6 separate regions of the Homo sapiens genome follow, and all the other regions are linked to region 3. The links are contacts of gene promoters, found by promoter capture Hi-C in blood cells and fetal thymus (Javierre and others, 2016). All regions are on one chromosome and are shown on one strand. Each heading gives the region's core, a stretch centred on a gene start or on the middle of the fragment in contact. The rest is flanking DNA. Distances are from core to core; before and after follow the strand shown.

Region 1 (3,864 bases), core at 617-3,116, 630 kb after region 3:
AAGGCAAAAAACAAACTAGCAACAAAAATCACATTGTAGCGATAGGGAAAAATAGGTCAGAAAACTTCTTTACAGCAGTATATTCAATGAGAGCAATGTCCCCATAAACCCTACCAGGAAATGAGTGGGTATAAAACATTCAGGTTTTATACCCCCTCAAACTGTCACTCAAGTATAAAATCAAAGGATGGATGCTCTCAAACATGCACAGCTCAGGAATTCTGTGTCCCATGGGCTCATTTTGAAGAGAACAAAAGAGGACAAATTTAGCCAATGAAGGCATCCACGGAATTCAGTAAGATGATGAGCATCCAGCCATTAAAAAATATAAATTTGTACATTTCCTTATGTATAAAATTGTGTATCAGAAGAGGAACACTGTAAAGTAATACTGAGCTCTGGGTGGTGAGATGCATGCTGGGGAAAGTATATTGATGTCTTTGTCATACTTTGAATTGTATACATAAATAAGATGGATTGATGGGTAGATAAATCCATGACAAAACAAGTACAGTCAGCCCTCTGGATCTGTGGACTCAACCAACCAAGCTTGGGTTGAAAATATTTTTGAAAACATTATGTATCGAACATATGCAGACTTTTTTCTTATTCCTTAATACAGTATAACGATTATTTACACAGTATTTATATTGTCTTGGGTATTAAAGTAATCTAATTTAAAGGATATGGGAGGATGTGCATAGGTTATATGCAAATACTACGCCACTGAATTAATTATTTAGAGACAAGGTCTTCCCTCTGTCACTGAGGCTGAAATTCAGTGTTGTGTGATCATAGCTCATGGCAGCCTCAGACTCCTGGGCTCAAGCAATCCTCCTGCCTCAGTCTTCCTAGTAGCTGGGACTACAGGTGTGCATCACTGTGCCCAGCTAAATTTTTTATTTTATTTTATTTCTTGTAGAGATGGGGGTCTTGCTATGTTGCCTAGGCTAGTCTTGAATTCCTGGCTTCAAGTGATCCTCCTGCCTTGCCCTCCCCAAGTGCTAGGATTACAGGCATGAGCCACCGTACTTGGCCAACTATGTCATTTTATATCAGGGACTTGAGCCTCCAAGGATTTTGGTATCTGGGGAGGTCCTGAACGAGTCCCCCATAGATATCAAGGGCCAACTGTAGAGTAAAAGTTTCGTACAATCTAGGTGGTGGGTATACAAGTAATCCTTGTAATTTTTTTTAGTGTTGCTGTATGTTTAAGAATTTTATATTAAAATGCCAGAAAAACATAAGCCTCCCTTTGTGGGAGAATTATGGTTACAAAATGGAATGCAAATATTATATACCATGTCCATACAGAAATGACAATACACCTTAGGGGTGTAAAAGGAGAAATTGGGGAGAGAAAAGGAACAGGTTTGTGTAAGAATGTGACCTTCCTCTTCATAAGCAGCGGAAAGTGAGAGATTCAGTGGATATTGTTTGAAGGTGATAAAGCAACTGAGAGTATAAAATGTTCCAAGAGAAATAAGCCCAAAATCTGAATGGTGGAAGGCACAGAGGAAACAGTGGGAGTGTCCTATTTTGGGCATTACTTGGAGAATCAGTAGATATGATATAAATGCTTTCAAGACAAACTAGGACCACAGAAACCATCTCTGAGATACAATGCTAACTGGGTAAGGCACTATCATTTGTGATTAAAAGCAACTCAAACATATGCATAGGCAATCTTGGGAAAGATACTGTTAACCATGGTTCCTTTTAGGACAGAGAGGAGGATTGGGTGGGAGTGACCGTTCTGTTTCAGCCCTGTGTTCTTTTATACTAAAACAAGCCAGCAAACCAACCTTTGAGATGTGTTGCCTTAAACATTACTGAATGGGGGTGGGGGAGATTCGGCTCCAACTTGCCCCCCTCAGCCCCAAATAAAAAGAAACATTTAAATGACTGTGAAAGACAGGTCCTAATTGTAAAGAGGGAATGGCTTTAGGAGGAGGAAGATCAATACTGCTATGAACTACTAAGGGACAGAAAGATTTCCTCCCATTGGAAATCTTTAAAGATAAAACACACTCCCTGGTCCTGTGCTTTGTAAGGCTGTAAGTGGAGGAAATGGATGAGGATTCACTACTCTTTTGGTCTCAGGAGTATTTAAGGAATTGAACCACAGCTGCAATCACTACACTCAATGTGGAATGTTCTGTGGGTTTTAATTTCTTCTGAGTGAATCATTTTTATTTCTAGATGGTAGATATTTTTAACCTTGCTTCCCTGTATGGACCAGTCAGTCATGGCTGCCGGCCTCTGTCCCTAACCATCAGGATAGGACCTCTGGCTTCCACAAAGTCAGCCCCCAGCATGGGGCACTGACTTCTCTACCCTTTGAACTAGGCCTATGATCCCGAGGTAGCCTCCAAAAAAAATCTAAGGTCTGACATTAATTACCTGCCTTTGCATTTTCCTCCTTGTTCTGCTTCAGGATTCAGGTCCGTTCCTCTGAAGAATGGGTACAGCGAGGACATAGAGCTGGCTTCCCTCCTGGTTTTCTGTGAGATGCGGCCAGTCCTGGTGAGTGGAGAAACACCAGTTAAGGGTTCCCTGAGCTATGCCTGCTGGTGAGGGTAGAAACGGCCCGTGAATACAATTGGCAGATGGACTTAAGCCCATTCAGAATTGTCTAGCCCAAGCATGAGACATCATACAAGAATTCCTTTTTGCTAATTCCCCAGAGTGTCCTGGGTTTTCCCTCCCAGCATCCTCCTTTCCTGGAGAATGCTGTGTGATTCTGTGTAGGCAGTGTAGGAAAGGGTGCCGGTACTTGTAAGTTCCCCATAGTTTCACTTCAGCAAGAGCCAGGCCAGATGATGCCTTCCTAGATAGACTCATCCTTTCTGGATGCTTTTTGGTGCCAGTGCATCTTTAGGAATCCTATCAAAAAGTCTGATAGCCTCCAATCAAGTAGAATGACCATAAATTAATCACCCCCCAAGCTGAGCATTTAGATGGAATCCATTTACAAATAAGGCGATCATGCACAGCTTTAGGTGAGTACCTTTTTCCTCCTTTACGCCAGAATTCTTTCCTTAGGATCAATACTCAGATATAGAATTAGTGGGATCAATTAATTTAGCTGAATGGTAAAACTGTAAAACCTGGGCTTTAGCAGAAGCCTTAAACCAGTGAGCATGAAGACCCTTTGCTTAGTGAAGCAGACCCTTTGCTTAGTGAAGCTTATCCCTCCCCAGCTCACTGAAGATCTGGGATTTGTGCATCTATTGCCCGGGGAAAGGGAACCAGTGCTGCTTCTCTCTATACATAAAACCCCTCCGCAGACACTTCACAGAAAAGTCAAGTGATAAAAATGGTTTTAGATTGTGGTAGGGCAGCATTTGCCTAGGCCCGCTGCTCTGCAAGGCTGTTGTAAACAACCGGAAACATTATAAATAATTTAAGTGATTAGGTATCACCAGCAGCAGAGAAAATTAGTATATTTAAAAGAAAATTGTGTTGATGCAGATTTGACTTCCTTGATGAGGGAAGCTTAATGCCGGGGCTGCCACTGTAGGGAGCCAGGGGCGTTGTGTGGGGTTCTAAATGGAAAGTCGACGCTCACAAATCTGCTTTCTGAAAGTTTTCTTTAGTTCAGCTGCTAGGTCTTGAGATTTCATTTAATTCCACATCTGTCACCTGGTTCTGTGCCACTCACAGGTGCAGCTCGGCATTTCTGTCCACACTGGGATGAAGAGTCGCTCTTGGAAGCCGAGCTGAATTGCATTCGGTAGACCTGGGCTTTCTCCTTAATGCCCACGGTCATACCTTTTATTTATCACCATATCCTCTGGAAGCCAGGGAGAAACTCTGGTAAACAGCCTCAATGCAGACTTTTCTGAGCAAATGATTGATCCA
Region 2 (4,074 bases), core at 1,444-3,943, 580 kb after region 3:
GAAGGCAAACAGACACCCGCTGTGTTTTGGCAGCTGGGTCCTAGGTGTGCACAGGTACCGCGTATCACCTGGATTGGGGGGTCTCTGAGCAAATGTGAAAAGAATGGTCAGGGCTGGATATGGTGGCTCATGCCTGTAATCCCAGCACTTCAGGAGGCTGAAGTGGGAGGATTGTATGAGGCCAAGAGTTTGAGACCAGCCTGGGCGACATGGTGAGATCGTATCATTACGAAAAGTAAAAAAATTAGCTGTGTGTAGTGGCATGCGCCTGTGGTCCCAACAACTTGGGAGGCTGAGGTGGGAGGATCGCTTGAGCCCAGGAGGTTGAGGCTGTGGTGAGCTGTGATTGTGCCACTGCACTCTAGCCTGGGCAACAGAGCGAGACTCTGTGTCTAAACTGAAAAGAAAAGAAGGGTCAGGTGGCATCTCTGCCTGGGCAGATGGCAGACGCCTTATTTCCCTCCTTCCTTCTCATAGCCTCTCTGGCTATTTTCCTTCCGGCCTCTCTCTCACCAAAGGCTCATGGGTGCATTTGGCTGAGAAAAGGCAACAACCAGCTTGTCGTGGTGTCTCATGCCTGTAATCCCAGCACTGTGAGAGGTCGAGGTGGGCGGATCACTTGAGATCAGGAGCTTGAGATCAGTCTGGCCAACATGGCGAAACCCTTTCTCTACTAAAAATACAGAAATTAGCCAGGCGTGGTGGTGCACATCTGTAATCCCAGCTGCTTGGGAGGCCGAGGCACAGGAATCACTTGAGCCTGGGAGGCAGAGGTTGCAGTAAGCTGAGATCGCGCCGCTGCACGCCAGCCTGGGCAACAGAGGGAGACTTTGTCTCAAAAAAATAAAAATAAAAAATAAATAAATAAAATAAAAAAGGCATCAACTACTGACTTAGGCTCCAGTGTTACCAAAACGACTCATCATGGAAGCAACGTTTTGTAGCAGTTACTCTATAGACTTTCTTCCCGTTTATGATTTTTCTCCTCCCTCAGGAAAAAACAAATGTTTAAAAGTAAAGCTTGAAGCAGTCAGCTCCTGTGCCCTCCAGGGGTCCAAAAGATTGGGGATGTTCATCTTCCACATGACCCATTTCTGTTTGAAAATATTACTGTGAACCTTTACAAATAAATTTCTCATTGCTCTGTATCATTTCCACGGGCAGAAAAGGCAGTCAAGGTTTTCAACAGGTAAAGTCAGAAAATAAAACACGTGGTAAAATCTTCTTTAAAAAGAAGCATTGAGGTTGGGCGTGGTGGCTCACGCCTGTAATCTCAGCACTTTGGGAAGCTGAGGTGGATGGATCATGAGGTCAGGAGATTGAGACCACCCTGGCCAACATGGTGCAACCCTGTCTCTACTAAAATACAAAAAAATTAGCCGAGCGTGATGGTACGCGCCTGTAGTCCCAGTTACTCAGGAGGCTGAGGCAGGGGAATTGCTTCAACCCGGGAGGCGGAGATTGCAATGGGCCGAGATTGTGCCACTGCACTCCAGCCTGGGCAACAGAGCGAGACTCTGTCTTAAAAAAAAAAAAAATGAAAAAAAAAGCAGCATTGAAACTAGCTTGTCTTGGACAGCTGCACTTGCATTATGTAAGCGCACAGGGAACCCTGCGGATACAGGGAAAGCCATGTCCTCGTGTTGGCAGCCGAATGGAGGGAGTGTGGGTGTCCTTGTCTAGTAACTGAACTGGTGTGTGGGCCGGGGGCTGACCTCGGGGCTGTCAGTGAACACACGTGGTATTGAGGCTGCCGCGTTTCTCCCTGTAGTGGACTGCTGGGACGGGCCCGATGGGAAGCCGGTCATCTACCATGGCTGGACGCGGACTACCAAGATCAAGTTTGACGACGTCGTGCAGGCCATCAAAGACCACGCCTTTGTTACCTCGAGGTCAGTTGGCTGATTTCTGGGTGGTGTGACTTAAAGGGGAAGGCAGCTAGGGTTGGATAGACAGATGGACAGACAGGCAAACACACACAGACACCTCCCTCCAAATGCGGGAAGGCCTGGGCCCCATCTTGGCCAAAGCCACTGCCATCAAGTTCTCACCCGAGTGTTGGCACCCCCTGCAGGCCGAGAGTGCAAGTTGCTCCCGGGCTCTAGAGCCCCGAGGAGGCTCTGGCTGGGGAACCCTGTGGCTGCTCAGTGCCCACCCCACCTCCTCATTCTGTCTGGCCCCCACTTTCAGAACCCCCGAAAGAGAGGGAAAGGCTGGGCGCAGTGGCTCACGCCTGTAATCCCGGCACTTTGGGAGGCTGAGGTGTGATCACTGAGGTCAGGAGTTCGAGAAGAGCCTGGGCAACATGGTGAAACCCCTTCTCTACCAAAACACACACACACACACACACACACACACACACACACACACACACACACACACACACACACAAATCATCTGGGTGTAGTGGCATGTGCCTGTAGTCCCAGTTACTTGGGAAGCTGAGGTGGGAGGATTGCTTGAACCTGGCAGGCAGAGGTTACAGTGAGGTCACATTGCGCCACTGCACTGCAGCCTGGGCAACAGAGCGAGACCCTGTCTCAAAGGAAAAAAACCCAAAAAAACAAAAACCAAAAAAAAAGTGAGGCAAGGAAAGTAAAATTCCCCTTCTGTCCTAATTCCCTCTTTTGTGCCCAGTTCTCACCCCCACCAAACCTGTTTCTACAGGCGGAATCCAAGCAGCCAGTAATGGTGGTGGTGTGTTTTTTGAATACCCACCTGGGGCCAGGCTCTGTGCTAGGTTCTTTGTACAGGTGATCATATTGATTCTTTGCCACAAAGTGAGTATGGTCATCCCCATTTAACAGATGAGTAAATTGAGACAAGGAGGGGTTAAATGGGTGAGAACATTTAGGTTCATTTCAAGGGTTTCTGACCTCAGGTGTAATCCTTTTCTGTCCCACCAGAAGATCTTGGTCTGGGCTGGAGGTCAACGAAATTGTTCTATAAAGAGCCAGATACAAATGTTTCAGGCTTTATGGGCCCTGTGGTCTCTGTTGCAACTATTCAGCCCTGTTGCTGAAGTGCAAAGCAGCCATGGGCAAGAGGTAAACACATGAGTCTGGCTGTGTTCCAGTTAAAACTTGAATTACACATTACAAAAATAGATGGCAGGCCAGATTTGGGGCAGAGGCCATCATATGCCGACTCCTGGTTTGGGTTCCTTGTTATTTCTGAGAGCTGGCAAGAGGCCTTCTATAGGCTCATTGGAATGATAGTTGTCTTTTTATACTTTCTGGGGTAGAATAGCAGTTACGAGTATGGGTTCTGAGTCCTTCTCGCTGAGTTTGAATCCAGCTGTTGAGTACTAGTTTGGGCAAAGCACTTACCATCCTATGCTTCAATTTCCATGTTAAAAAATAGAGGTGATAACTGTGTGCACCTCACAGGGCGGTTGTGATGATTAAATGAGATGCCATTACAGCAAGTGCTTAACCCTGCACCTGGCATAGAGTAACTGTTGAGTCAATAAGATCGATTATTTTTTCTCTTTTTTTCTTTTCTTTTCTTTTCTTTTTTTTTTTTTTTGAGATGGAGTCTCCCTCTGTCGCCCAGGCTAGAGTGCAATGGCAGGATCTCGGCTCACTGCAACCTCCACCTCCTGAGTTCGAGCAATTCCCCTGTCTCAGCCTCCCGAGTAGCTGGGATTATAGGCATCCACCATCATGCCCGGCTAATTTGTGTATTTTGGTAGAGATAGGGTTTCACTATGTTGGCCAGGTTGGTCTTGAACTCATGACCTCAGGTGATCCTCCCGCCTCAACCTCCCAAAGTGTGGGGATTATGGGCATGAGCCACCGTGCCCAACCCGATTGGTTATTTTTATTGCATTTACTGCAGATGTCCCTTGAGCTGGGTGGAGGTGTTGCTGTGAGACAATGAAATTATGGACGTCTTTTCGCACTTGGTGAAAACCTTTCAATGAAGGCATATGATTTCTCCATCGCAGCATTCTCCCCTGTGGGGTCCTAGCCCTTCTAAGTGCCAACCTCCATCAGGCAGATGGAAGGAGCTGGTATTAACAGACACTGTGCAGTGGCAGCTTACACTCTGCTTTGAGAGTTTGCTTTCATT
Region 3 (3,770 bases), core at 1,210-3,709:
GTCACCCAGGCTGGAGTGCAATGGCGTGATCTCGGCTCACTGCAACCTCTGCCTCCCGGGCTCAAGTGATTCTCCTGCCTCAGCCTCCTGAGCAGTGGGGATTACAGGTGCCTGCCACCACACCTAGCTAATTTTTGTATTTTTAGTAGAGACGGCGTTTTACCATGTTGGCCAGGCTGGTCTCGAACTTCTGACCTCGTGATCCGCCCATCTCGGCCTCCCAAGAAACATTTATTAAGTGTCTGATATTCAGGTGTTTTTCTTTTTTTTAATCCCTCCATCCATCCAACATTCAGTTAGCACTATTACGCACCAAGTACTGTGCTTGGTACCTGGAAATCATGCTGAGCTACAATAAACATAGTATAGCAGGTGACATGGATAAATAAACCCATTATAAAAAGTTTCTTGCTCGAGCAATGTTCAAAATACAGCAACTGCTTGGAGAAAGGAATGTCAGCTGCTCACAGGGATACTGGGTAGGTATCATGGAGAAGATAAGTCCAAGCTGCTTGTCTTGTGTGTTTCTTACCTTTTTAAATATATTTTTCGGCCGGGTGTGGTGGCTTATGCCTGTAATTCCAGTACTTTGGGAAGCCAAGGTGGGCGGATCACAAGGTCAGGAGTTCGATACCAGCCTGGCCAACATGGTAAAACCCCATCTCTACTAAAGATGCAAAAGTTAGCCAGGCATGGTGGCACATGCCTGTAGTCCCAGCTACTTGGGAGGCTGAGGCAGGAGAACCACTTGAACCCGGGAGGCGGAGGTTGCAGTGAACAGAGATTGCACAACTGCACTCCAGCCTGGGCAATAGAGGGAGACTCCATCTCAAAAAAAAAAAAGAAAGAAGAAAATATTTTTCAACATCCACAAAAATATAGAAACAGTACAATGAATCTCCACATCCCCATTAAACATCCACAACAATATAGAGACAGTACAACGAATCTCCACATCCCCATTACGTGGCTTTAACAATTAGTAACTTGCGGCCACTTTTGACTCATCTACACTCCCATCTGCTTCCCCATCCCTTTGTTTTGTTTTGAAGCAAATCCTAGACATCTTTATCATTGCATCCGGGAACACTGAGCTGCATTTACAGAAGAAAGTGGAAATGCATGTGTCTTCCACAGCCGTACCCTCCCCATCTATTCTGCCCTGAAAACAGTTAGATACTCGGATTCCTGCCAGTGACTCCAAAGCCTTGGCTGGTTCAGGGTAAATACCCAAGACTTTATTGGAGCCTTTCAGTTGGTTGAAGGACAGTGAAAATTCCATCCTGTCTTGCCTGGAATGCTAGCCACATTCTTCTGGTCCGGAGTCCTCATACAATTGCTAATTTTTTAGAGGCTTATGGAGTCCCTAACGTTTGCACAAAATGGTTGCTACATTCCACACTCCCATGTGCCCTGAGCAACCTCCAGGGAAACTTCAGATACCGTGGGGCTTGGCCTGCCAGCTGAGCTGACCCAGCGATCCTTTCTATCACAGCTTTGATCTTCACTGGGTTGGGAGCCTGTCTGAATCTAAACATCTGCCTCTCTACTGCCCACCCCTTCAGCATTTCCTAGCTCTCCCTGAAAGGTGCAAACATGCATGCAGTTACTCAAACAGAATATTTATCCTTAACTCCCTCTCCCTCACAATTTCTTTTAAAACAATCCACTATTGTCTACCCCCGCCCCCGCATCACCCTTTCATCCAGGTGCCCATTCCCTTCTCTCTAGTCCTGCAATACCTAAGCATCGATCTGCCTTTAGCACATCCATCCCCGCCTTATTCTCCACGCAGGAGCTGAGTGACCTGCACAAAATCCCCTGCTAAATACGGTACTTCCATGGTTCTTCACCACTGCAGAAACCAAACTCCTTCCCACACCAAGGAGGCCCTGCAAAATTTAAGGCCTCCTTCGGACTTCTCCAGCTTCATCTGCTACATCTCCTTCCTAGCCCGCAACCAAAACCATCTTTTCCGGGTCTGTTTTCTCGGGTTTTTGTCCTCTCACCTGGGCAGCTCCTTTTCTCTCATAAATAAAGAAAGCTACAGCGACTTCGCCCTTGCTTCCATGCATCATCTCATGAGTCCACAACAACACTAAGAATTCGCTTTCATTTTGCAGACGGAGAAACTGAGGATGGGCACCTTACCCATGGCCACAGAGCTAGTAAGTGGAACAGCTGCAACCAGGATTCAAACTCGCGGCTCCAGAGGCCACAGGCTTAACCACGGAATCCTAGCCCGCCCGCACATCCCTCCATCGCGGGAGCGACCTATCTCATCCGTAGACACCTTCCGCTGCACCCAGCCGCAGCTGGTCAGGCGGGCGGAGGAAGGAGGCTTCTGATTGGCCATCTCCAGCAGCGGAGGCGAGAAGGCGGGGAGCGACGGTGCGGGGGCGTCGCGGAGAAATGACTTCATGACGCGGCTTCTTAAAGGCGCCGGCCCAGCGCGCCGCGGATAGCACAGGCACGTCCCGGGGGCTCCAGCTTCTGCTCAGAGCGCGGAGAGCCGGGCCGGGCGGGCGCGCGCGCAGGACTCGGGCCGCTCGAGGGGTCCGGCCGGACGGTGTCGGGAGCCGGACCCGTCGGCAGAGGAGCGGGCGCCGCGATGGCTGAGGGCAGTGCCGTGTCTGACCCTCAGCACGCCGCGCGTCTGCTGCGAGCGCTCAGCTCTTTCCGCGAGGAGTCTCGCTTCTGCGACGCGCACCTGGTCCTCGACGGGGAGGAGATCCCGGTGCAGAAGAACATCCTGGCGGCGGCCAGCCCGTACATCAGGTGGGGAGGGGGCTACGGCGGGCGGGCGCGGCGGTGCTGCCCGGAGCCGGAGGCGGGGCGGCCGGGCCGGGCGTGGCCCCCAGACCCTGTCCCCTGTCCCCGGCGCCGGGGTCCCCGCGTCACCGTTGGCGCGGCGTCCCTCCCGGCAAGCGCCGGAACCCGGCCCCGCTGACCGCGTCCCCCAGGCGGCCTCTGTGGCTTCCAGGCCCGCGCTCCCCACTGGACCCCCGCGCCCCTTGGAGTTGTCCCCGGACCCGGGCCGCGATCCCCCGCCTTGTCCCTCCCGGTTCCCACCGCCGCGGCGAGCGCCCGACCTCGGAGACCCTGAGGCCCCCAGACGCCGTCCTGGGCCGGCCGGGACCCGCACCTGCGGGCTGGGCGAGGCCGCGCCGGGGAAGAGTCACCCCCTCGCCCAGGCCGGGCCCGCGGTCCCCGCTGAAGTTCGCCAGTCGCTCGCCTCTGAATCCACGCGCGGGGGCTGGGCCGGCGCCGCCAACCAGGCGGGGAGCGCCCTGCCCGCTGGGAGGCCAGACAGACAGCGCCTCGCTGGGTGCAGGCAGAGAAAACCCTCTCGATGTTCTCCTTGGGTTGGTAGTCCGAACCTCCGGGCGAAATTCTCCTTGCCAAACGTGTCTTTTCCGCTCCATTCTGGTAACTGTTTAAAAGAGGAGTTACACGTTGAAGTAAACTGTAGCGAATTCTCAGGATGCTGTTACAACCCGAGGACCGTGAGAGCCTTGCGACAAAGGGCATTTTAATACTTTAGTAAAGCAAAGCTTAACCTGATTTGCCAACTCAACTAACCAGGTTAATTAAAAGGTTGATAAGACAGTGCTTATACAAGTGTATCAGATCTTGCAGGAGACTATCTTTTCTTTTAGCAACCTTCTTGCAAACTAGGTTGCTGTTTTAATAAAAGGAAAGGGGGGAATGCTAAAAACTGGAGAAACTGACCAGTAAGCTGGTTAAATATAAGCTAGTGGTAGAGAATA
Region 4 (4,175 bases), core at 223-2,722, 660 kb after region 3:
AGAATATATTTTTATTGAATAAAAATTATAAGGTGACAGACCAAAAAAAAGAGACCTCCTAAGCTCATTTTAGGAGGGTAGAGGACAATCAAGGAAGAGAGGGAAAATCAAGAAAAGTGAAAGGAACAGAGAGAAAGGGAGGGAGGATGATGCCAATCTCACTGTTAAATAGAGTAGAAATCCTGAAAAATATTTGCAAACCAATGTTCACTTGTTCATAACGTAGAGTTAATCTCAGGAATCCAGTAATGGTTTAATATTGGAAAACCTATCAATGCAGTTCTCTACATTAATAGATTATGCTTTTCCATAAGGAAATTGATAATATGAAACACATATGCCACATAAAAGCTTTTAGTGAATTAGTGTTTTTTTTTTTTCCAAGGTGGTGGATTAGAGGTTTTTAACATGCCTCAGCCACTTGGAAATAGCAAAGTAGTGCCTAAACTCTCTGAGCTTTAATTGGAGAAGGAAAATTGGAATCCACTAGAATTGTAAAGAAAACCTCAGATCCTGGGTAGAAGAACACAGGCAAACAGCCCCTGTGATGATGTCTAGTTCATAAAAAGATTGTAGTGCCCCAGGGCCTTCTCTGGTTGACACCCAGGCAGATCTCCACTGACCTGGATCAGCAGCCGGAGTTGCCCCACTCTTCCTCTGCAGAAATTGTGGTGAAACAGGGCCCTCTCCGCTCCATGCCCAGGCAGATGTCCAGGCATTCAGAGCACCTCCTTGCCTGAATGAGTAGTCTGAGCCAGCCCACCCTTCCTGTGTAGAGACGATGGTAAAGCGAGGACCTCTCTGTCCCATGCCCAGGCATATCTCTAGGCAGCTGAAGCACCCACTCTCCTGAATTAGGAATTTAGGCTGACCCCTGATCTGTACAGATAACTTGGGGCTGAGGAGGTTTTCCAGCTCCATGCCTAGGCCCACCTCTGGGTATCTGGTGGCTGCCCACTGGATTCTCCCTCAGCACTGGTGCTTGTGCCTGCCACTGGGGGACCTGTAGGTAGGCCTACCTGGTCTGGTCCTGCCCATCATGCCCCCCTCTTCCTGGGGCTAAGCAGGAAGCTCAGAGGACTGTGCATTCCATGCATCAGCCCATTTCCTGAGGCAACGGCGAGCTTCTAGTAGTAAACAAAGGGCAAGTATATACCCAGCATGTTGGCTGCAGCTGCCTCTTACCCTTAAGTACCCTCTACTGGTTTGTAAGTCAAACCACAAAGCCTAATACAAAACCTGCCAAAAGTAGTGCATAGGGTTATAGAAGCAAAGCCAAAAGACCCTACCCACATTCTCTACAGTCACAACTCCTGGGGGCAGTAGCGGGGGTGGTGTGGGGAAGGGAAAGGGAAAGAAGAAAAAACCGGTAATATTATAGAGAAAGAAAAAGAAAAGAAATCCTACCCACATGAAAATAATTACAAGAATTAGAAGAGTCAGCATCTCCAGATGAGAAGGAACTAGCACAAGAATTCTGGCACCATGAAAAATCTGAATTTAGTGGTATCACACTAGCTCTCCAGCAATGGTCCCTAACCAAAATGGAAATGCAGAAATGACAGAGAAAGAATTCAATACATGAATTACAAGGAAGCTCAACAAGATCCATGGCAAGACTGAAAATCAACACAAAGAAACTTCTAAATCAATCCAGTAAATTAAGGAAGAGATAAACATCTTAAAAAGAAATCAGGCCGGGTGCGGTGGCTCACACCTATAATCCCAGCTTTGGGAGGCTGAGGCGGGCAGATCATGAGGTCAGGAGATTGAGACAATCCTGGCTAATATAGTGAAACCACGTCTCTACTAAAAATGCCAAAAAATTAGCTGGGCGTGGTGGCAGGCACCTGTAGTCCCAGCTACTCTGGAGGCTGAGGCAGAATGGTGTGAACCTGCAGGACAGAGCTTGCAGTGAGCCAAGATCATAACACTGTACTCCAGCCAGGGAAACAGGGTGAGACACTGTCACAAAAAAAAAAAAAAAAAAAAAAAAATCAATCAATCAGAACTTCTGGAATTGAAAAACTCACTTAAGGAATTTCAAAATACAATTGCAAACTTTGTCAATAAATTGGCCCATATGGAAGAAAGAATTTCAGAGCTTGAAGACTGGTCTTTCAAACTAATCTAGTAAGACAAAAATAAAAAACAATTTTAACGAATGAACAAAAAACCTTTGAGAAATATAAGATTATGTAAAGTGACCAAACCTATGAATTACTGGTATTCCCGAGAGAAAAGGAGAAAAAATAAGCAAGCTGGAAAATATATTTAAGGGAGTAATTCAAGTAAATTTCCCTAACCTTGCTAAAGAAGTAGACATCCAGATTTTAAAAATCCAGAGAATACCTGTGAGATACTATACAAGACAAACATCAGCAAGCCATATAGTCACCAGATTGTTCAATGTCAATGCTAGAGAAAAAAAATCTTAAAGGCAGCTAGAAAAAAATGTCACATCATGTACAAAGGAAACCCCATCAGGCTAACAGCAGACTTGCAGCAGAAACCTTACAAGCCAGGAGAGATTGGGGGCCCATTTTCAGTATTCTTAAAGAAATTCCCACCAAGATTTTCATATTGCACCCATCTAAGCTTTATGAGTAAAGGAGAAAATAAAATCTTTTACAGACAAGCAAGCAGTAAGGGAATTTGTTACCATTAGATCAGCCTTACAAGAGAATCTTAAGGGAGTTTTAAACATAGAAACAAAAGAAATATACCTCCTACCCAAGAAACACACTTAAGGACATAGCCCACAGACCCTATAAAGCAAGCACACAAGTAAAAACTACAAAGCAACCAGCTAAAAACCTCATGACAGGATCAAAACCTTACACTTCAATATTAATCTTGAATGTAAATGTCTAAATGCCCCACTTTAAAGGCACACACTTGTAAATTGCATTAAAAAACAAGACCCATACATCTGTTGTCTTTAAGACACCCACCTCACACGTAAGCACACCCAGTGGCTCAAAGTAAAGAGATGGAGAAAGATCTGTCATGTAAATGGAAAACAACAAACAGTAGGGGGTCACTATTCTTAGATAAAACAGACATTAAACCAGCAACAACAAAAGGACAAAAAGGCATTACATGATAAAGGGTTCAATGTAACAAGAAGACTTATCTGTCCTAAATGCATATGCACCCAACACTGGAGCACCCAGATTTATTAAAAAACAAACAAACAAAAATAAAACCTACTACTAGACCTTTGAAAAGACTTAGCCACATGATAATACTGGGAGGCTTCAATACTCCACTAACAGTGTTAGACATATCATCAAGGCAGAAAATAAATTCTAGACTTAAATTTGACACTGGACCAACTCGATCTCAGACATTTACAGAACACTCCACCTGTTAACCACAGAACATACATATTTTTCAACTGCACATGGAGCATATTCCAAGATCAACCACATGCTCAGCCATAAAATGAGTCTCAATAAATTCAAAAAAATTGAAATCATACCAGCCATACTTTCAGAACAGAGTGGAATAAAATTATTAATCAATACCAAGAGGATATCCCCAAACCACACAACCACATGGAAATTAAACAATTTGCTCCCAGATTACTTTTGAATAAACAACAAAATTAAGGCAGAAATCCAAAAATTATTTGAAATAAACAAAAACAGAGACACAACATAAAATTTCTGAGATGTAGCAAAAGCAGTGTCAAGACCAAAGTCTGTAGCTCTAAATGCCTACCTCAAAAAGTAAGAAAGATCTCACAGAGATTTTTAATTTAACATCACGTCTTGAGGAACTAGAAAAACCAGAACAAACTAACTCCAAAGATAGCAGAAGAAAACTAAAATCAGAGCAGAACTGAATGAGACCCAAAAATTCACATAAAGAATCAATGAAACCAAAAGCGTGTGTTTTTATTTTTGTTTTTTTTTTTTTTTTTTGAGACAGAGTCTCACTCTGTCATCCAGGCTGGATGACGATGGCATGGTCTTGGCTCACTGCAACCTCTGCCTCCTGGGTTCCAGCAATTATCCCGCCTCAGCCTCTTGAGTAGCTGGGACTACAGGCGTGTGCCACCACACACGGCTAATTTTTGTATTTTTAGTAGAGATGGGGTTTCACTATGTTGGTCAGGCTGGTCTCGAACTCCTGACCTCATGACCCACCCGCCTCGGCCTCCCAAAGTG
Region 5 (3,859 bases), core at 66-2,565, 560 kb after region 3:
TCATCTGCCAATACTGTAATTTAATACCTGGCTACGTGACTGCTACCCTGCTACCTCCTGATCAAACCTGTGAAGTCCCCTGTGGTTACAGCATTCTTACATAAAAATAGAAAGCACTTGCAAAAAATCAAAAAGAAAATTGAGAAGGCTGCTAACGTATCTCTGGTTGTTCCTATGATCCAGTAAGGCATTGAAGGATTATTCTGCCGGATTTTACATGGGTGTGAGCATGGGGGAAGTGAGTGATGAGCGTTCTGTGACGATGTTTGTGGAGGAGCTCAGAGATCTTGCAGTTTATTCTTATTGTCAGTGGCTGGCAAGAGGAGAGTCCACAGTGGAGAAGTTAGATAGAATCTCTGGTTAGCTTTTCTTTTTCTTTCTTTTTTTTTTTTTTTTTTTTTGTTTTTGAGACAGGGTCTCACTTTGTCACCGAGGCTGGGGTGCAGTGGTACAATCATGGCTCACTGCAGCCTCGAACTCCCTGGCTCAGATGATTCTCCCACCTCAGCCTCCGGAGTACCTGGGACCACAGGCGTGTGCCACCATGCAGGCTAATTTTTGTATTTTTTGTAGAGACAGTTTCACCATGTTACCCAGGCTAGGCTTGAACTCCTGGGCTCAAGTGATCCACCCGCCTTGGCCTCCCATAGTGCTGGGATTATAGACATGAGCCACTGTGCCTGGCCTAGCTTTTCTATTGATGAGATTTTACCCTTGGCCTTCCAGAACCAAATGGTTTCTACAGCCTAAGTACCACTGAGTGCGTAAGACCAGCTTCGGTTGTGAAAGGGCGTGTGCCTTCAGCCACGTGGGAAAACTCCATTCCTTTCCCTCCCTTTCTTAGTGCCCTGGCCCCTGCTTCTGTGACCCCCGCCTCTGGCATGGCCCCTTCTCTTGTCCAGCTGGTAACTTCTCCTGGGGCCCGACTCAGAGATGACATTTCCCTGTAGCCTTTTAGCTACCAGAAGAAATTAGTTTATCTATTATTTTAGTCACTCATCCAGTAAATGTGTGCGTGACCCAAGAGGCACAGTGGTTAACAATACAGCTGTTTCTCCTGACCTCACTGGCCCTTTGCTGGGGTGGGAAGGTCCTGGGATGTTGCCCAGAGTGACATAAGGCCCAGTGCCACCCCTGTCCCTTGGTTAGGTAGAATCTGACCACATAACCCTCCATGGTAATGCCGAACATAAATTAACTGCTGCCTCCACGGTGCACCCGTAGCATCTAGAATATTCTGTGATTGCTGGAATCTCATTTATTGTGTGTACATATGTACGTGTAGTGTGGGATGCTAGAGATTTACCAAGGTGGGCCTGGGTTGAAATTCTGGCCCTTGGACTTGTTAGGAGAAAAGTCCTTGCCTCCCTGGGCCTGTTTCTTGTTTCTGAAATGGGGCTTATTTTACTACCTGATGGGATCAGCAGGAGGAGTGACTGAGACTGTCACCGTCTTGCCCCAGCTCATGGAGCCCATGTTCATTTCCTGGGGCCGCTGTGGCAAGTACTGCAACTCGTGGCTTAAAAATAACAGAAGTGTCGGGCACGGTGGCTCACGCCTGTAATCCCAGCACTTTGGGAGGCCAAGGCGGGCGGATCGCGAGGTCAGGAGATCGAGACCATCCTGGCTGACACGGTGAAACCCTGTCTCTACTAAAAATACAAAAAAAATTAGCTGGGCATAGTGGCGGGTGCCTGTAGTCCCAGCTACTTGGGAGGCTGAGGCAGGAGAATGGCGTGAACCTGGAGGCGGAACTTACAGTGAGCCGAGATTGCGCCACTGCACTCCAGCCTGGGCGACACAGCGAGACTCCGTCTCAAACAAACAAAACAACAAAACACAGAAGTTTATTCCCTCACTGTACTGGAGGTTAAAAGTCCAAAATCCAGGTGTTGGCAGGGCCACACCCCTCGGAAGGCTCCAGGGAAGGATGTGTTCCAGACATCTTTCATGGCTTCTAGTGGCTGCCAGCAATGCTTCAAGCATTCCTCGGAGTGTGGACACCGCCTGGCTGCTGGTGGCTGCCAGCAGTCCTACAAGTGTTCCTCGGTGTGTAGATGGCATTGCTCTTTGGTGTGCAGACACCATCACTCCTCGGCATGTAGGCGTCATCGCTTCTTGGCGTGTAGATGTCATTGCATCGCTCCTTGGCTTGTAGATGTCATTGCATCGCTCCTTGGCTTGTAGATGTCATTGCATCGCTCCTTGGCTTGTAGATGTCATTGCATCGCTCCTTGGCTTGTAGATGTCATTGTGCCAGTCTCTGCCTCCATCATCACATGGACCCCTTTTCTCTGTGTGCTTCTCTGTCTCCAAATCTCCCTCTTTTTTTTTTAATTTTTTTTTTTTTTTTTTTTTTTTTTGAGAGGGAGTCTCGCTCTGTCACCCAGGCTGGAGTGTAGTGGCGCCATCTCGGCTCACTGCAAGCTCTGCCTCCCGGGTTCACGCCATTCTTCTGCCTCAGCCTCCCGAGTAGCTGGGGACTACAGGCGCCCACCACCACGCCTGGCTAATTTTTTGTATTTTTTTAGTAGAGATGGGGTTTCACTGTGTTAGCCAGGATGGTCTCCATCTCCTGACCTAGTGATCCGCCTGCCTCGGCCTCACAAAGTGCTGGGATTACAGGTGTGAGCCACCGTGCCCGGCCCAAATCTCCCTCTTTTAAGAAGCCAGGCACTGGATTCGGGTCCACCCTAACCCAGCAAGGCCTCATCTTAACTTGATTGCACCTTGCAAAGACCCTAATTCCAAAGAAGGTCATGCCCATGGGTACTGGGTATTAGGACTTGGACATATATTCCCGGGGACACCATCCTATACATAATACTAGCTATAACTTTTTCTATCTTTAGAACGTCTTCCTTGATCACCTGTGCCCCATACTGTCAACTACAGCCCCATTTATCTGCCCCCTTTAAAGTAACCTACTCCAAGAGCTGTCTACGCTTCCCTTCTTCCTACTGTCTCTTGAGTCTATTCCCGTCTTGTTTCCATCCCTGCCTCCTAGAGCACTTCATCTTGGCACGTCAGCCATCACCTCCATGTGTTGCGAATCCAGAAGTCTGCCCCGTGGTCTTTATCTTGTCCACTCAGCAGCACGTGTCAAAGCTGGTCACTCTCTCCTTGATGTTGTAACTTGCCTTTGGGATGCCCGACTGTCTTCCTTATCTTGCCTCTCACTGTTGGTTCTCTTGCAGCGTTTGTGGCTCTTGGCTTTCATTTGTTCTTTTTCATTCTCTGTCCTGCTCTGCGTCCCAGGGGCCAATTCCTGCAAACACGTTCCCAGGTGCCTGTGCCAATGAGCTTCCGGTTGCTTCAACAAGCAGAGTGTCCGGGCAGGGAGTTGCAAGACCTGGCAGAGGAGGGGAAGCCAGGTCTTTCCTGGTTCTGGGAGCATCTGTACCATGGTGGTACCTCTGCCATTGTCCGAGCTCCCTGAGTGGGGGAATGCGGTGCGGGCTTTTTCTGTGCTTTGTTGAAAGGAATGTAAAGGAAGGAGAGGGCTGAAGAATTGCATGTGGTGGTCAGTGAGGGGGGCCACACACTGGGCTCCCTCCAGATGTAAATAAGCTGGGTGTGGGGCTTTGGGCTTGGAAGTGTTCTAGCCCCTGATGCCTTCAGCAGCAGGCTGACTTGGTGACCTAAGCAGTAAATGAGTCCAAATAGCAACATGCCCTGTCTAAAATCTGCAACACCACCCCTTTTTAAAAAGAAATACCTATGCTGTAAATTACACATCAACGAAAGGAAGTACTTCTCAGTTTGCCTAAAAAGGCTAAGTTTGCGGCTCTTAACCTTTTGGTGGGACCTACTCCTTTGAGATGCTGATTATGTCTCCAGAAGAAACACACACCCACAC
Region 6 (4,191 bases), core at 1,677-4,176, 850 kb after region 3:
TAGCTTCCCAACACTTAAAAGACTTTTCTGTTGAAACCCACGGTGATACTAATGAATGTGATTTTTGATATTGTATAACAAGATGAGTTAACACTGGGAAAATCTATACAACTCATTTTCCAAATGACAGATGCAGGATGTTAAGAAATCATATACAGGTAAAAGATCTATTTGGAATACAAGACAGACCAAGACATGAAAAATTCACTGGTGTTTTCAGATTCCACGTTGCAATTTACTCTGAAGAAACTACTACTGACTGAGTTTTGGAGTTGTACCAAAGAATTATCTGAAAAGGCCATTGAGATACTCCTCTCTTTTCAACTGTATCACCTGTGTGAGGGGGATTTTCTTTATATACTTCAACCAATACAACATGCTTTAACAGGCTGACTGCAGGCGTTCAGAGTCTAGCTGTCTTCTATTATGCCACAATGTTAAAGAGATTTGCAAAAACAGAAAACAGTGCCACTCTTCTCGTTAAATTTTTTGTCTTGAAAAAGTTATTTGTCATTAAAAATGTGTTAGGTAATGAATTTGTTATTTAAATAATTTTTAAAATTTCTTACATAGTAAATATTAACAAATATAAATCACACAAAACACTCTTTAGGTGTTCTAAATAAATTTTTTTTTTTGAGATGGAGTCTCATTCTGTTGCCCAGGCTGGAGTGCAGTAGCGCAATCTCGGCTCAATGCAACCTCCGCCTCCTGGATTCCAGTGATTCTCCTGCCTCAGCCTCCTGAGAAGCTGGGACTACAGGCACACGCCATCATGCCTGGCTAATTTTTTTTGTATTTTTAGTAGAGACGGGGTTTCACCATGTTAACCATGATGGTCTCGATCTCCTGACGTCGTGATCCGCCTGCCTCGGCCTCCCAAAGTGCTGGGATTACAGGTGTGAGCCACCGTGCCCGGCCTAGGAGTTCTAAATAATTTTTATAAATGCAAATAGCTTCTGAGTTCCAAAACTCTGAGAACCACTGTGATTTTGGTTCCTCTCTCACTGGCCCTCTAGTCTGGCTAGAAACTCACTTACTTCAGAACCGCCTCTCCCTGAGGGAATCTAAATTTGGGCACAGAACTTGCTGTTCAGCTTTTTCTATGAACTTGGGATTCCCTCTCAATTGCCCAATCTTATTCCTTATAGAGGGAGCAGCTGATGAGACCTCCTCAATTCCAAAGTAAATCATCTCTCTCAGGAAAGCACCATACATCAAAGCTTTCACTTAAGGCAAAGGAGGGACCCAGAGAAAGACAACCTCCAGAGGTCAGGACTGGATTCAGAGCAGGACTACTGGCCCCTCAGAGGTTTTTCCCACGGGTTTGCATTGACACCGTATCTTTAATATAAAAAGGAGCACAGGTGTTTTGTATCTACATGCATGGTTTTAAGAATTAGAAAAATTAATTACAGAGTTGGCAAGCAAGTGAAATATTTCAAAACTTACCTCTTTTTGTATTTTAATTATCCAATTTTCATTAATGAGGATAATTTTCAGGCTAAAACACACCCACAAAATTATTTCATAAATTTCGCAGATGAGAAACTACTGCTCAGAAAAAGCTGGACTTGCCTAAAGCCACAAATACCATGGCAAAACTCCAGTTAGAAAACCCTTCTCAGTGGGTCTCACATTCCTGCACATTTTTTGAGTGAGGCACTAACTGCCCGGTTGCTCTGGACTATCTTTGCAAGGATATCTGCATAGCGAGCAGCCTTGAAAAACAGTCTTCCTCTAAAGCGAAGGGCAGATTTGCTTACTGTCCAGCATAATACAGATGCCTCTCTTGGGGCCGAAGGCAAGTCTGCTTGTGGTCCGTTATCCAAGGTTCCAGTTTTCTAAGCTCAGGAGATCTCAGCTATGATGCAAATCCACTGGGTGCACAGCATCCACCTGGGCCACTTCACGCCATCCCTCATAGGAGTTGGGGACAAAAGAGAAATGACGCAAACTTGATGCTTGTGCTGCTTGCTGTACAGTAAGTCCTTTGTTTCTGATGGTGTTCAGGAGACACTACTCCCAAAATATGGCATCTTGGCATACTGAAAATTTTACACTGGAGGAATCTGAAAAATGACGTGCAGGTAGGATTTTCTGACTGTCCCCTGAAGCAGGTCATAAAAGCATCTCACATAAGAGGTGCCCTCCCTACACTCAGAGGAAAGCAACATCCTTATCTCAGAAGAAGGGACAGAGAGAGGAATCTGAACAAAAGACTTGCTAAGTTTCTCCTGGCTTATTACTCTTCGTTCATACCCCTTGCTCCCATCATATTTCTTCACAACTTTCCACTCTTCATCAAAGCTAACATAAAAACACTCAGGTTCAACCAGTTCTTCGGTATTCATTTTCTTATGAAGGCTCCTGTGTCACCTAAAACTTTTGTGAAATAAAAGTGTATACCTTTCTCTTTGTTAATCTGTCTTTTGTTACAGGGACCCCAACTAATGAACTTCAAATGGGTGGAAGGAAAGGCTATTGTCCCTCCCCTACATCTCAGACCCAGAAGGTTCCTATCTTCCACCAGCATCAGTGAAAGTGTGGCAGGCTAACTTGTTAGTTTCAGGTCCCTATAGCTTCTGACTCCAAACAGACCACAAAACACAAGTATAAGATGTACAATAGCCAAAAATACTTCTTAAACAACTTGCTACGGCAAAGGAGGAATTAAACTGCCTATACTTGCACACTCTTTCTGGACCATATCCTTGGGGAAAAAAACAATAAGGCAATAGATAGCAAAATCTTTCATCTGGTAAATTTCACTCCTAGGAATTCACACTATATCGGGTTCCCTGGAAACAGACTCTGAGACAGACATATATGCAGAAAACTTAGCAGGCAGTGTTGTTCAGCAGATGCCCTTCTAGGAAAACAGAGAAAGAAGGATTGGGCAGAGGGAGAAGATAATGGGCAATGTGGCTACACTAAGGCCTCAGCCACATATGAGAGCTCTGGAGTCAGGAATGCCCTTCAGTTGTTCCAAGTTGAGGCACAGCAGCTAGATCATCATTCCCCTACATGGTCTAGCCACTGGCTAAAAGTGTCCCCTGTGAGGCAGTGTTAACACTGAATAGCCCTAATTATCTTCACTGAATTACAGACTGATACGGCTGACATTAAAAATGGGAAAGTCGAGACTTTCAGAGCACAGACACATGCAATCTCCAAATTCACAGAATAGTTAAGACAACACTAGCAAAAAAGGATACACAAACATAAGTGAGTAGAAAGGAATGGGTGTACTTCATATATTCAGATATAAGGAAATACACACAATGGTGACAATCACTGTGCTTTATGCCTGGTGTTATGGTGACTGTTTTACATATATTACCTCATCTACTTCTCGGAATGTACTGGACAGGTACTATCATCATACCCAATACACAAATGACACAAAACAGGTTAAGTAACTCACCCAAGGTGACAAGTAAACAACTGGCGGAGCTGGGCATCAAACCCAGGTCTGCCTGACTTCAGAGCCCATGTGCTTAATCAACCAATCCATTCCATGATCTCCCTATTTAGAGTGTTAAAAACAACAACTCAATACAACACGTATACCAAGGACATGTCATCCATTCACCCCTCCAGACCTACTTCCCGTCTTCACCTGTTTCTCTGGCCTGGGAGGCTGACTTGAACGTAATGCACGGAAGGGCTCCTTTGCTGCCAGGTACCTGGCTCCCTTGCTAGGATGACCTTGGGCTGGCCGTACCCGTGAATGGAGGTAGCAGCTCCTGTAAGGTGCTCTCTCTACACAACTTATCTGCAGATTCGGTAGCAGCTATTCCCCACCCACCCGTTGACTCTGCAAGCTCAGGTGGTAATCACTCCCACTACACATGCTAGGAGGTGCTGCACTGCCCCGAGGGGCCCCCCTATGCCCCACCCACACCTTGATAGTCTCTCCTCAGTCTGAGAGTGTCATCTTCTCCTGCCAACATCCTGAGCTGATATACACACCTATACATAAACAGGATGCTGAGTAATGGCAAAAAGGCATTATTTACCTTCCCAGAAAGAAATGTAAAGGTCATTTTCTGGGAATAATATGCTGTATTAGGGGAAAAATACTGGAAACAAGATAGAAACAGTCCTGCTCTTTAATAAACAACTGGAAGGAACACTTTGGCAAGTTTACTTAAGGCATAAAAGTAAATTATAGCTCCAGCAGCAAAG

Evidence for each region. Contacts are between HindIII fragments. The CHiCAGO score rates a contact against its expected background, and 5 or more counts as called.
Region 1: a fragment that was not itself captured here is called in contact with the fragment with the promoter of GAN in region 3 in 4 of 17 cell types (naive B cells, total B cells, neutrophils and 1 more); the score reaches 6.8 in naive B cells.
Region 2: a fragment that was not itself captured here is called in contact with the fragment with the promoter of GAN in region 3 in 4 of 17 cell types (naive B cells, neutrophils, total B cells and 1 more); the score reaches 8.8 in naive B cells.
Region 4: a contact is called between a fragment that was not itself captured here and the fragment with the promoter of GAN in region 3, in 1 of 17 cell types (total B cells). The highest score is 5.2, in total B cells.
Region 5: a fragment that was not itself captured here is called in contact with the fragment with the promoter of GAN in region 3 in 10 of 17 cell types (monocytes, total B cells, neutrophils and 7 more); the score reaches 10.8 in monocytes.
Region 6: a fragment that was not itself captured here is called in contact with the fragment with the promoter of GAN in region 3 in 2 of 17 cell types (total B cells and naive B cells); the score reaches 5.3 in total B cells.

What each region holds. Positions count from the first base shown.
Region 1 is chr16:81,943,738-81,947,601 of GRCh38, forward strand. PLCG2 (phospholipase C gamma 2) reads left to right here. Exons shown (of 33, transcript NM_002661.5): 31 at 2,438-2,526. Among named protein-coding and RNA genes, the nearest start is that of SDR42E1, 66 kb to the right of the region's middle. The HindIII fragment of the contact is 2,639 bases long and covers 548-3,186 here.
Region 2 is chr16:81,894,036-81,898,109 of GRCh38, forward strand. PLCG2 (phospholipase C gamma 2) reads left to right here. Exons shown (of 33, transcript NM_002661.5): 13 at 1,772-1,892. Among named protein-coding and RNA genes, the nearest start is that of SDR42E1, 120 kb to the right of the region's middle. The HindIII fragment of the contact is 3,350 bases long and covers 1,019-4,074 here.
Region 3 is chr16:81,312,503-81,316,272 of GRCh38, forward strand. It overlaps GAN (gigaxonin), which reads left to right and starts at 2,460. Exons shown (of 11, transcript NM_022041.4): 1 at 2,460-2,778. The coding sequence starts at 2,612. RefSeq lists an enhancer at 2,297-2,496 and silencers at 2,507-2,846, 2,987-3,046, 3,067-3,336. The HindIII fragment of the contact is 5,241 bases long and covers 1-3,552 here.
Region 4 is chr16:81,972,835-81,977,009 of GRCh38, forward strand. No RefSeq gene overlaps it. Among named protein-coding and RNA genes, the nearest start is that of SDR42E1, 37 kb to the right of the region's middle. RefSeq lists an enhancer at 2,735-3,301. The HindIII fragment of the contact is 2,247 bases long and covers 350-2,596 here.
Region 5 is chr16:81,875,637-81,879,495 of GRCh38, forward strand. All of the region lies in intron 7 of PLCG2 (phospholipase C gamma 2), which reads left to right. Among named protein-coding and RNA genes, the nearest start is that of PLCG2, 98 kb to the left of the region's middle. The HindIII fragment of the contact is 7,218 bases long and covers 1-3,859 here.
Region 6 is chr16:82,158,785-82,162,975 of GRCh38, forward strand. The region is part of intron 2 of MPHOSPH6 (M-phase phosphoprotein 6); the gene reads right to left. Among named protein-coding and RNA genes, the nearest start is that of MPHOSPH6, 9.3 kb to the right of the region's middle. RefSeq lists an enhancer at 1,944-2,088 and a cis regulatory region at 2,016. The HindIII fragment of the contact is 3,410 bases long and covers 1,222-4,191 here.